2 separate regions of the Homo sapiens genome follow, and region 1 is linked to region 2. Evidence: promoter capture Hi-C in 16 types of primary human blood cells and fetal thymus (Javierre and others, 2016). All regions are on one chromosome and are shown on one strand. The core of a region is centred on a gene start or on the middle of the fragment in contact, and the rest is flanking DNA. Distances in the headings are between cores, read along the strand shown.

Region 1 (6,187 bases), core at 909-3,408, 530 kb before region 2:
CAATACCCTTTATAAAATTGTCATTTGAATTCATATTTTTGGTCATTTTGTAACTTACTTTTCAATTCTGATATTTAATTTTTTTATTTCTTTCTTGGGTTCAATTGATTCTCATTTTATTTCTTCCTGTTTTTGTCCTTTGCTGCTTTCAGTGTTTATCTTTCTAATTCAGCATACTTTGAAAAAATTTCCAAATGCTCATTTGAGGATATTTAATTTAGTTTGGGGGATTGTATTATAGGTCTCTTAAGTTCTTTGGTTGGTTTTATGGGAAAAATTTTCATCAGCTGAAATGCGTCAATTCAATTTAAGTGATTTTTCAAAATAGTTGTGTGTGGATGTGGTCTGATTTTTTTTCTATGGCTATACTCTTCATAAATTGAGAGTGCCCACTTCTTTCAGTTCAGCCCAAATCTGTGTAATTTCTTTTATGAATGGTGTTTTGATTGCAGTGTTGTGGGCGGAGGGATTGGAGTGTTTTATTCCTTTTTGTTTTCTTTGTTTCTTTCCTTTCCAACTTCATACATCTGACTTCCCCCTTCCATCTACTGTCAATAACTCCCTGCTGTTGCCACTTCTGGCACCACTTACTTTCGCTAAACCCAGTGTTAGGAACCACCAAGTTCTGACCTGTGTTCAGCATTTTGGTATTTGTATTGAACTTTCTCACTTTGATGATGATTTTGTTTGTGTTTTATCTAATTCATCTAGAATCCTACTCTTTTTTAGTTCTTAAGTTTCCTCTCCTTCTTTCTCCACACCCACAGGCAATGGAAATACTTCCTAGTGCTCCTGGATGTGTGAATCATCTGTGGTTTTGTTTGTTCCCCTTGTTGGTTTTATAGTTTTTTGGGAGAAGGATCAATGGGGAGATTCAAGCTCAGGACGCCAACCTTGTTCTCCAAGCCTATAGGTCTTTAAGATCTGGAGGTGAACAGAGAAGATGTTAATGAGAAAGTTATATTAAACAAAGCCTTGAAAAGGATTAGAAAGTTGTGCAGTGGGATATTGGATGGGGATGCATTTCAGGCAGAGGAAACAGCATGATGGTCTTGAGGTGTAAGCATCTCTGGCATGTTTGCGGAACAGAAATGAGGGGAGCTGGACTATGGATGTGCAGGTGAATATGGAAAAGAAGAGTAAGATGAAAGGTCAGAGAAGTAAGAGGGTGATGTGTATTTGTAAGGACTGAATAAACATGCCTGAAGATAGAAATTGGAGAAGGTGGTATTCAAATCTATCTACATGATTTCACACCTTGTGTTCTTTTCACAACATAATGTTGCAATTCATAAAGAGATTTTATTAAGTTAACCTATAATGAAATATAACCCAGAATATGCAGTTTTGGAGCTCACAAAAGAATCTTCTAGTGTGAGAGAATGATAGGTCTTTGTGGACTCAATTTATTATCTCTAGTATTTACCTTTCCCTTGAAGAGAACTGATAAAACTCCTGGTGTCATGAAGCTTACATTCCATGGAGGGAGATACACAAGAAACAATATGTAAGTAAAAGACACAGTATGTTATGGTGATCATTATTAAACAGGAAAGAAGGATAACGAGTGCTGGAGAGATGTTCAGAATTTTAGGCAAGACAGCTATGAAAGAGCTTACTGAAAAAGTGACATTTGAATGAAAATCCTGGAAGATGTGAGTTAGTGCAAGGTGCTTAATCATTTTGTACCTAATTTTCTCATCTGTAATTTGGGGAAGGATTACATTAAATGGTCCATGTCAAAGTATTTCCCTATACAGTAGTAGGTAATGGGTGCTCTTTGCATAGCTGTCTTTTCAATGTCCAGGTTTAAAGTTAGTACCACAGAATATTGTGTTAGGGACTCTCCAGCAGAGTGTAAATGCTTGAGCATGTGCGCACATGCGTGCACACACACACACACACGACATTGCCGCTTCATTCTGGCAAAGATCATTTTGGTCTCTGATTAAACATTCCAGTATATCACCTGTGGAGGTAGACTCCTGCAGACACATTAAAGCAAGTTTTCATTAGCAATTAGAAAACATCAGATTCCACAGGTGCCACATAAATTTGCCAGTTTATCTTAATTCATCAACTGCTGTCAGCATCCATGGCTCAAGCTCCCCATCATAAACAAAAAATGAGGAAGAAAAGTTTATGTTTTATTCATTCAGTACTAATTTGCATGTGGTTTGATTAGAAAGTAAAGCAATGCAGTCAGTAGATGGTGCCAGAGGGTTGCTTTTCACTGCAAGGCTAGAATTAGTTTGCTGAAGATAATCTTTTGTCCAATGATTCTGATTCCTTTTCCCTGGCCATGCTAAACATTTTTCACACGGGTGAACTATTAACATAAGAAAAATCTAAAACTTTAGAGTATATCCACATTACTATGCATGGAATAAATCATTATACATCTTATTAAAATATTTAAATGTATAAATTTCAAAAGAGGAAAATATTTAATTCTCATGTTTTCTAATCATAAAAAGGATGTCTTAAGCATTTTGATGAAATTATTAATATATTATTTGAATTTATATTCAATGCATTAAGTTGAATTATGAATATGTATGTGTATTATTTATATATGTATATATAAAATTTAAATAATACTATAATATCTTAACAAAAGTGATACAGGGAACACATGGTGGTTCCATCTACCTATCTGAGAAGATTTTCTCACCAAATCTTTTGGAGTTGTTTCTTCTGGAGGGAAAATGATAGTCTTATTTATCTATCATCCCTTTAAGCATAACACCACATGGTGCTCATTCATAGAGTAAATATTTGTTAAATGAATTTCTCACAGTGATATCTTATTCTCAAGACCTCCCTCCCTTTGTGTTATTTTTATAAAAAGCTTATTAATCATATTCACTCATTTATTAGGTTCACATAAGGATTGCATATGTTGTCACCAAAACTCTTCTATAAATCCCTTCAGGTTATAGACCATGTTAATCTTTAACTTTCTAAAATTTATTTAAATCTTCTCCCATTTTTTAGGTTGCCTGTTCACTCTGATGGTAGTTTCTTTTGCTGTGCAGAAGCTCTTCAGTTTAATTAGATCCCATTTGTCAACTTTGGCTTTTGTTGCCATTGCTTTTGGTGTTTTAGACATGAAGTCCTTGCCCATGCCTATGTCCTGAATGGTAATGCCTAGGTTTTCTTCTAGGGTTTTTATGGTTTTAGGTCTAACGTTTAAGTCTTTAATCCATCTTGAATTAATTTTTGTATAAGGTGTAAGGAAGGGATCCAGTTTCAGCTTTCTACATATGGCTAGCCAGTTTTCCCAGCACCATTTATTAAATAGGGAATCCTTTCCCCATTGCTTGTTTTTCTCGGGTTTGTCAAGGATCAGATAGTTGTAGATATGCGGCGTTATTTCTGAGGGCTCTGTTCTGTTCCATTGATCTATATCTCTGTTTTGGTACCAGTACCATGCTGTTTTGGTTCCTGTAGCCTTGTAGTATAGTTTGAAGTCAGGTAGTGTGATGCCTCCAGCTTTGTTCTTTTGGCTTAGGATTGACTTGGTGATGTGGGCTCTTTTTTGGTTGCATATGAACTTTAAAGTAGTTTTTTCCAATTCTGTGACGAAAGTCATTGGTAGCTTGATGGGGATGGCATTGAATCTATAAATTACCTTGGGCAGTATGGCCATTTTCATGATATTGATTCTTCCTACCCATGAGCATGGAATGTTCTTCCATTTCTTTGTATCCTCTTTTATTTCATTGAGCAGTGCTTTGTAGTTCTCCTTGAAGAGGTCCTTCACATCCCTTGTAAGTTGGATTCCTAGGTATTTTATTCTCTTTGAAGCAATTGTGAATGGGAGTTCACTCATGATTTGGCTCTCTGTTTTTCTGTTATTGGTGTATAAGAGTGCTTGTGATTTTTGTACATTGATTTTGTATCCTGAGACTTTGCTGAAGTTGCTTATCAGCTTAAGGAGATTTTGGGCTGAGACAATGGGGTTTTCTAGATATACAATCATGTCATCTGCAAACAGGGACAATTTGACTTCCTCTTTTCCTAATTGAGTACCCTTTATTTCCTTCTCCTGCCTAATTGCCCTGGAGAAAATTTTTGCAACCTACTCATCTGACAAAGGGCTAATATCCAGAATCTACAATGAACTCAAACAAATTTACAAGAAAAAAACAAACAACCCCATCAAAAAGTAGGCGAAAGACGTGAAAAGACACTTCTCAAAAGAAGACATTTATGCAGCCAAAAAACACATGAAAAAATGCTCACCATCACTGGCCATCAGAGAAATGCAAATAAAAACCACAATGAGATACCATCTCACACCAGTTAGAATGGCAAACATTAAAAAGTCAGGAAACAACAGGTGCTGGAGAGGATGTGGAGAAATAGGAGCACTTTTACACTGTTGGTGGGACTGTAAACTAGTTCAACCCTTGTGGAAGTCAGTGTGGCGATTCCTCAGGGATCTAGAACTAGAAATACCATTTGACCCAGCCATCCCATTACTGGGTATATACCCAAAGGACTATAAATCATGCTGCTATAAAGACACATGCACACGTATGTTTATTGCAGCACTATTCACAATAGCAAAGACTTGGAACCAACCCAAATGTCCAACAATGATAGACTGGATTAAGAAAATGTGGCACATATACACCATGGAATACTATGCAGCCATAAAAATGATGAGTTCGTGTCCTTTGTAGGGACGTGGATGAAATTGGAAATCATCATTCTCAGTAAACTATCACAAGAACAAAAAACCAAACACCGCATATTCTCACTCATAGGTGGGAATTGAACAATGAGAACACATGGACACAGGAAGGGGAACATCACACTCTGGGGACTGTTGTGGGGTGGGGGTAGCGGGGAAGGATAGCTTTAGGAGATATACCTAATGCTAAATGATGAGTTAATGGGTGCAGCACACCAGCATGGCACATGTATGCATATGTAACTAACCTGCACATTGTGCACATGTACCCTAAAACTTAAAGTATAATAATAATAAAATTAAAAAAATTAAAATAAAATAAAATTTATTTAGACCAATGCCTGGCAATAAGGATAGCATGATATGAATGCCATAACTATGAATAATACAGTTAATATAGTTAATAATTATACTATAATTAATAACTTGTATGGAACCACAATATTAAATTTCTTATTTCTAGGCACAAGCAGTGAAGATAAAATACTTATGACTAAATTCAATCCTAATTATGAGACAAATAGGGAAATTTGCTGAAACACAGAAATTTACTTCAACCTCCAGGTTTTGGCAGCAATTAAATTTAGAGATAGAGGCAAATGTTTTCCATAGAATAAACACAGCATTTGAATTTATTTGATCTTGAAAAGTTTAAAGTGTCAAAAATAAGTAACAGAATACATAAATATGTCATTTGATATACTTTACAGACTTTGGAATTGACAAAAGTTAAGGTGCTGATCAAAAATTATGACAATTTCATAAAACGTGTTATATGAAAAAAACTTAAGAGAAATAGACTTTTGAGAGAAAGTTGAGGAAATAAAGATAATTATTGAATTAGATTTGGAGCAAAGTAGGTAATGTATTGAGCCAATTGTTGGAAAGGAACAGGATGTCAGATTCTGTAGATAAAGCCTGTGAAAGAAAAGAGCAGATCAATTGGATTAGGATAATTTAAAAGAGTAGAAAAAACGTCCAAATATCTTGAATCTGAGAAAATGAGAATATTTCTACAAGTCTTTGCATAGTAAAGATCTTAGAATCTTTTGCCAGAATCCTCACATTTTTATTTGACATGAAAATTGAACATATTATTAAATCCAAAGGCCTAAAATGTCTCATAAGGATTCCAGTCCCCTGTGATTGCACATAGGAATCTCAAGTGTAAGACACTTTGCTGTCAAATGTGTTTCTACAAGTAGGCACAGCACTGGACTATAATTGTAAGAGGAGGGTAAAAATATAAATCTCTTCTTCCAAAGAAACTTTTGTTATCAAACTTAGCATTTTAAATCAATCAGTCTGATACCTAAAAACTTAGAAATTATCTCTCTATTATAAGGTTTGCTGTTCTAATAGTAAGCGTAATAGATACTATATTTGATGATTCCATCACTTCGATTGGTATGATTTTAGTTAAATGATTGCACTATTATTTATGCCACAGGATGTTCAGAACCCCTGATAGTCTCTTTGATACTC
Region 2 (6,672 bases), core at 1,131-3,630:
ACAAACATTGTAGATGATTTTTTCCCCTAAGGTCTGGGAACCACTGGTATAAGCGATTTTTAGCTCTTCAGACAGACATAAGATTTTGAATGCTAATTAAAATGGCTGCTAATTTGTGAATAATTTCTAATTGAACCCCAGGCAATCTAAAGAGATAAAAAATTCATTGTGAAAAACACAAATAACAGTGCAAAATAAATTGTTAATTGACCTTTTAGAATCACTAATAATATAATTGCTTTGTAGAAAACCTTTTAAAGCTGAAATTTAAAAAATATTGTTTTTAAAAATTACCAAGATAGCTACTATAAAATATGATTACATGCCATGGGATGAACTATATCTCCCCAACATTTGTATGTTGAAACCCTAACCCTCGGGCCTTTGGGAGGTGATTAGGTTTAGATGAAATCGTGAAGATTGAGCCCTCAGATGGAATTAGTGCCCTTATAAGAAATCTGAGAGCTTATGCTGTCTCTGTTCTGTCTGTCTTTCTCTCTCTCTCTGCCATTTGACACAATGAGAAAGCCACAATCTGACAGCCAAGAAGGGGGCCCTCACCACAACCTGGCCATGGCAGCCTCCTGATCGTCGACTTGCAGCCTCCAGAACTGTGAGAAAATTAATTTCCGTTAAGTCACCCAGTTTATGGTACTTTCTCAAACTAAGACACCATAGAAGTGTAAGTTTTAAAAATATTAATACATTTAGTGTTATTAATTCCTGTCCCTGCACATATAACACAATGTTCTGTTATAAAGTTAAAAACAAATTAGAATCTTCCTAATTCAGTATGTTCTAAGAAATACTACTTGACAATAATCAATAAAATAAATTTGCAAAACTTGTCAATGATGTGTCCCATGTCAAATCAAATAAAGATAGCCTTTCTTGGATAGGTTGTTGGAAAATGGTTGTATCAACTGAATTTTTCATGTTTTACTTCAGATTTTCAATTTTAAGTTTTGTTTATAGATTTGATTAAAATAAAGGTTATTATGAATAGGTTATTAATAAAGGTTATAAAGTTCTGTGCCTATGATGTGTTATAAATGGTGTGTTCAGCTTTACTAGTTAATGCTGTTGTATTTGATGTCGCTTCAGTGACCTTTTTTGTTAGTTTATTGTTACTTAAAATTAAGCAAAATCTTTCTTGCATGAAATCTTCTTGATTAATTATTGCCATATAGAATTTTCATTCACCTAATCTTTTTTTTTTTTATTTGAGACAGAGTCTTGCTTTGTTGCCCAGGCTGAAGTGCAGTGGTGGCATCTCGGCTCACTGCAACACTGCAACGTCTGCCTCCTGGGTTTAAGAGATTCTCCTGCCTCAGGCTCTGGAGTAGCTGGGACTATAGGCGGGCACCACCACCCCCCGCTAATTTTTGTATTTTTAGTAGAGACGGGGTTTTACCATGTTGGCCAGGTTGGTCTCGAACTCCTGATCTCAAATGATCTGCCTGCCTCGGCCTCCCAAAGTGCTGGGATTACAGGCGTAAGCCACCGCGCCTGGTCTCATTCGCCTAATCTTTATTGTCTACTATATTCAAAGTGTTGAGTGTGACAACAAGTCATTTAAAATTTAGTCTGGATTCTCAAGAGTTTGTAATATAATGAGGAAAAAATCCCAACGACTTTCTTTTACTCAGATCTCCATAATGTCATTTGCCATCAATAGTTTGGAATATCACTGAAGTCCAAGGGCCTGTGGCTACCCAATATTCCAAATACAATATAATTTGGTTCAAATAAGATATTAAGAACTTTGGTCAAGAACTTTGGTCAAACACAGGAGATCTGGAATCTAACGGCATGTCTTTGGCAATTCACAACCTCTCCCTCTACACGTTTCTCCATGTAGAAAGTAAAGGCCTTGGAAAGGATTGATGAAAACCAACCCTAAAACTCCACGATGCCTTTTTCTGTACTCCGAATCTAAAAGGGTGAGCTATGAAGTAAAACTCTGCACTTGGTCCAAGTCATTGAAATATTTGCAAACGATGCTAGAGCTCGAAAAGAGCAAAGATAGCAGAAACCGTCCAGAGAAAGTAACCTACTGCTGAAGCTCTGCAAACTTGAGCAGTCAACCAACTTCACCGCTCACAAACGTTTGGCCGCTAGGCATTGTGACTTTCTGCCCAGATAAAAGTCTTTTTTTCTTTTGTCTCCTTTTTTTCTTCCTCCCTGCTTTGCCGCGTGAGATTACCACTCCTCGGGTCAGCTCGCGAACGCCAGGGAGGCGAGTGTGAAACACACGCGCCAACACCCCTCCTCCTCCTCGTGCGCTCCTCCTTCCTACAGAAAAATGTGTTTCTAGGCAACGGCGGGCGGCGGCGTCACTTCCTGCCATTTAAACTCAGGTCCCCACCCCTCGCAGCCCCTTCTCCTCGTTTCCACCCCTCCCCCCTCGGTCGTGGGCCTCATTCACGCTTCCCCGGGCTTGGGGAGGGGGCGGAGGCCCGGCGTGACAAGCGGCCCAGACTCCCGTGGGCGCCGCACACCTGTTGTTTGCAGCAGCCAGCGACCCGCACTACCGCTCTCGGCGGGCGGGGAAGCGGCCGCAGCGGAGCCGACCCGGCAGGTGGCCGCGGGCGGGGCCGGCGAGCGAAAGTGCGCGGGGGCCCGACCACCGCGGGGCCGGGACGCGATGGCGGCGGCAGAGCCCGCGAGCTCGGGCCAGCAGGCGCCGGCAGGGCAGGGGCAGGGCCAGCGGCCGCCGCCGCAGCCTCCGCAGGCGCAAGCCCCGCAGCCGCCCCCGCCGCCGCAGCTCGGGGGCGCCGGGGGCGGCAGCAGCAGGCACGAGAAGAGCCTGGGGCTGCTCACTACCAAGTTCGTGTCGCTGCTGCAGGAGGCCAAGGACGGCGTTCTGGATCTCAAAGCGGTGAGCTCCGGAGGCGGGGACGGGGGCGGACTTCGGAACCCGTGGCCCCCGGGGAAGCCCAGCCCCTCGCCGCGTGGGTCTAGCGGCGTGGTGTAGACGCGCCTTGCGGGGACCCGGGACCGGGCAATCCGAGGACCATGTGGCCTGCGCCCGGGTCGTGGACGCCGGGATGGGGGAGGGACGAGGGACCAGGATGGCACCGAGCGGACGCGTAACCAATGGGGCCCGGCGCCACGCTGGGCTCTCGACAAAGAGCCCAGGACCTCGAGCGCGCCCGCGTGGCTTCTGTCTCCGGGCGCAGGGACCTGAGGGTAACCGAGTGTCTGTTGCTCTGCGTCCACCTGTGGCAGAGGCTCACGGGGTAACGGGCGCTTTGCCCGGAGACACCGTGGATATCGATTTTGCTGTTAAGAATGGATGGTTTTAATAGGCGATTCCAGTTGGAACCATGTTCCTGTAGTTTAAATAAAAAGGAGGAAAAACAAAACCCAGTCTGCCATCTCTACCAGATGAAAGAAAAAAAAAAAAGAGTACTTCTTTCCACGCCCCTCCCCGATAAAATAGTATTAAATCTTCCTTGTGCACTTCTTTCATCACCCTGATAGTTAGGAGGGGTATTTGATTTGTGACTTCATTTGGCATGTGTCATGGGTTTCCAAAAGTGAGATCTGCTGTCACACGAAAAGGGGATATTTTACAACTTTCACCCAAAGAGGTGGAAGTGCTCAGTAAACTCTCTCCCTGCGTCGTCCTTTACAGCGTTCAGATTTTTCAAACAGGAGCAGGCATCAAAAGCTGTTCTGTCATACAGAATGACTTAACCGATCTAGGAAGGATTTGGAAGAATTCAACAGCGCTCAGGATAATGAGAATGTGGTCACTCCGCGCGAAGTTTAAGAACTAAAGTTTTAGAAACAAACAAACAAAAAACACTAACTGCCCAATAATCACTGCAAATCCCCTTTGACTCCCTAAATGTGGCCTTACTTGGAGGATTGGCCCCAGCTCCCAGGGGAGTGCCTGGACCACCTTACCTGGCTTGAGAGTGTCACTGCATCCTCAAGGCTCTGCATAAAGCAGTGGCAGCTCCCTGAATGTAAGGACCAAGACTTGCAGGGGCCAACTCTTCTGCTAGAGGCCCTCCTCCAGTGTAGCCCAAGGGGAAGTAGATCTTTTCAGTGCCCTCTCCTTTCCCTGGATGTAGTTGGTGTTCAATCAGTGATTGTTGAACTGAATTACCTAAATTGTTCAACTTCATACAACTGAGGCATGCTGCACATATTTTGCATTTTGGTAAGTAATTTCTACTATTTTCTTTTTGATATGTTATTCCTGGAATTTTTTTCCCACCTCTGGAAATTCCTTGTTCTCTTTTTTCCACCACAGCCCCTTCTTCCTTTCTCTCCCTGAAAGTGATTTATGGCATGTGTAGTATTTAAATTGTAGTGAATTAAAATGGATTCTGTTTAAAGAATTTCACAGGAAGTCATGAAGTTATCAGAGAAAGCCAGGAATGTTACAAAGCACAGGTGGCAAACTGCTGTTCAAAATCTAGAAATTCAGCTGTAGCCTGTGACTTTGGTGTAAGAAAATCAGGGAAGTTTGGGGTTTTCCAGGTAAAACTGAACTCTGACGGCTGGACTTTGAGGGCTTCTCCCTCAGCTTGCCTCAGGATATGGTGGAACTTTGCCCTTTCTTGACTTGAAATTCTTTAGCTTCCTCCTGTTTCATCTGTGGCTATATAATTGCCCTACAGAAGTCACAGAGGCAGTGAGTAGGATGTAAAGTTTGGTATTTCATGACAATAATTGCTTTATTCATTCTGGAACTCTCCTAAAAATTCAAAGGTTTCTACAATAACACTGTCTCATTATATTAATGACTTCATACTCCTAGAAAAGAGTTTGAATGTCTTTAGTTTTCATATATATGTATGAAAAACATATGTTTTATGTATTTTACGTATATTTTTCATTTATTTATATATACTTATATATGTAAAAATCTTTTTTTTTTCTTTTTTGAGACGGAGTCTTGCTCTGTCGCCCAGGCTGGAGTGCAGTGGCGCGATCTGGGCTCACTGCAAGCTCCGCCTCCCGGGTTCACGCCATTCTCCTGTGTCAGCCTCCCGAGTAGCTCGGACTACAGGCGCCCGCCAGCGCACCCAGCTAATTTTTTTGTAATTTTAGTAGAGACAGGGTTTCACTGTGTTAGCTAGGATGGTCTCGATCTCCTGACCTTGTGATCCACGCGCCTCGGCCTCCCAAAGTGCTGGGATTACAGGCGTGAGCCACCGCGCCCGGCCAAAAATCTTACATTGAAATCTTTCCAATGATATTTCTTATTATACACCATAGTAAAAGATCGTTAAAGCCTTTTTTTTTTGAGACTGAGTCTTGCTCTGTCACCCAGGCTGGAGTGCAGTGGCAGATCTCTGCTCACTGCAACCTCCACCTCCCGGGTTCAAGCGATTCTCCTGCCTCAGCCTCCCAAGTAGCTGGGATTACAGGTGCCCGCCACCATGCCCGACTCATTTTTGTATGTTTAGTAGAGAAGGGGTTTCACCATGTTGGCCAGGCTGGTCTCGAACTCCCAACCTCAAATGATCTGCTTGCCTCAGCCTCCCAGAGTGCTGGGATTACAGGCGTGAGCCACCATACCCAGCCCATTAAGACATGTTTGATAATACATATTAAAGATGGACTCACACTGACAATTATAAATTTCCTCTAATTTGAAATTATAAAGACACATTTTCTCTTGTATTCTTACTTTGGTGGGGGCATATTTCAGCATAATTTTTTTGAAACTTTTAAGTTATACACTTGACTTTTAAACGCAGTTAAAGAAACTATACATATATATATATATATATATATATATATATATATATATATATATGGTTTTTTGGTTGGTCTTGTTTTTTTTTTTTTTTTTTTTTGAGACAGAGTCTCGCTCTGTGGCCCAGGCGGGAGTGCAGTGGCGCAATCTCGGCTCACTGCAAGCTCCGCCTCCCGGGTTCATGCCATTCTCCTGCCTCAGCCTCCCGAGTAGCTGGGACTACAGGCACCCGCCATCACGCCCGGCTAATTTTTTTTGTATTTTTAGTAGAGACGGGGTTTCACCATGTTAGCCAGGATGGTCTCGATCTTCTGACCTCGTGATCCGCCCGCCTCGGCCTCCCAAAGTGCTGGGATTACAAGCGTGAGCCACCGCGCCCGGCCGGTCTTGTTTGTTTTTTGAGACAGGGTCTTATTCTGTCGCCCAGGCTGGAGTGCAGTGGTACAATCTCAGCTCATTGTAACCTCCACTTCCCGGGCTCAAGTGATTCTCCTGCCTCAGCCTACCAAGTAGCTGGCACTACAGGCGTACACCATTATGCCTGGCTTATTTTTATATTTTTAGTAGAGACAGGGTTTTGCCATATTGCCCAGGCTGGTCTCGAACTCCTGAGCTCAAAGCTATCTGCCTACCTTGGTCTCCCCTGTGAGCCACCGCTTCCGGCCTTGAAGAAACAGTTTTTGAATATCCCAAAGAATAAAAAAGTATATCAAACTTCAAGTAAAATATCCAAATATTTTGGATATCATAAAGTATCCTAGACCACATAGATGCTATTTCTTTTCTATCTTATGCTGCTGGAGAATAAGAACGTAAGGTTGTATCTTAGTGACACATTTCTTCTTTTTTTTTGAGACGGGAGTCTCACTCTGTCACCCAAGCTGGAGTGCAGTGTCGCGATCTCCACTCGCTGCAAGCTCCGCCTCCTGGGTTCACGCCATTCTCCTGCC

What was found. The method cuts DNA at HindIII sites, captures the fragments that hold promoters and counts their contacts. A CHiCAGO score of 5 or more calls a contact.
Region 1: a contact is called between a fragment that was not itself captured here and the fragment with the promoter of E2F5 in region 2, in 1 of 17 cell types (M0 macrophages). The highest score is 5.4, in M0 macrophages.

The regions. Positions count from the first base shown.
Region 1 is chr8:84,646,231-84,652,417 of GRCh38, forward strand. The region is part of intron 2 of RALYL (RALY RNA binding protein like); the gene reads left to right. Among named protein-coding and RNA genes, the nearest start is that of LRRCC1, 460 kb to the right of the region's middle. The HindIII fragment of the contact is 1,382 bases long and covers 1,468-2,849 here.
Region 2 is chr8:85,174,774-85,181,445 of GRCh38, forward strand. E2F5 (E2F transcription factor 5) reads left to right here and starts at 2,381. Exons shown (of 8, transcript NM_001951.4): 1 at 2,381-2,881. The coding sequence starts at 2,648. E2F5-DT (E2F5 divergent transcript) reads right to left here and starts at 2,268. Exons shown (of 3, transcript NR_134311.1): 1 at 2,058-2,268. RefSeq lists an enhancer at 2,042-2,211 and silencers at 2,312-2,841, 2,852-3,241. The HindIII fragment of the contact is 15,711 bases long and covers 1-6,672 here.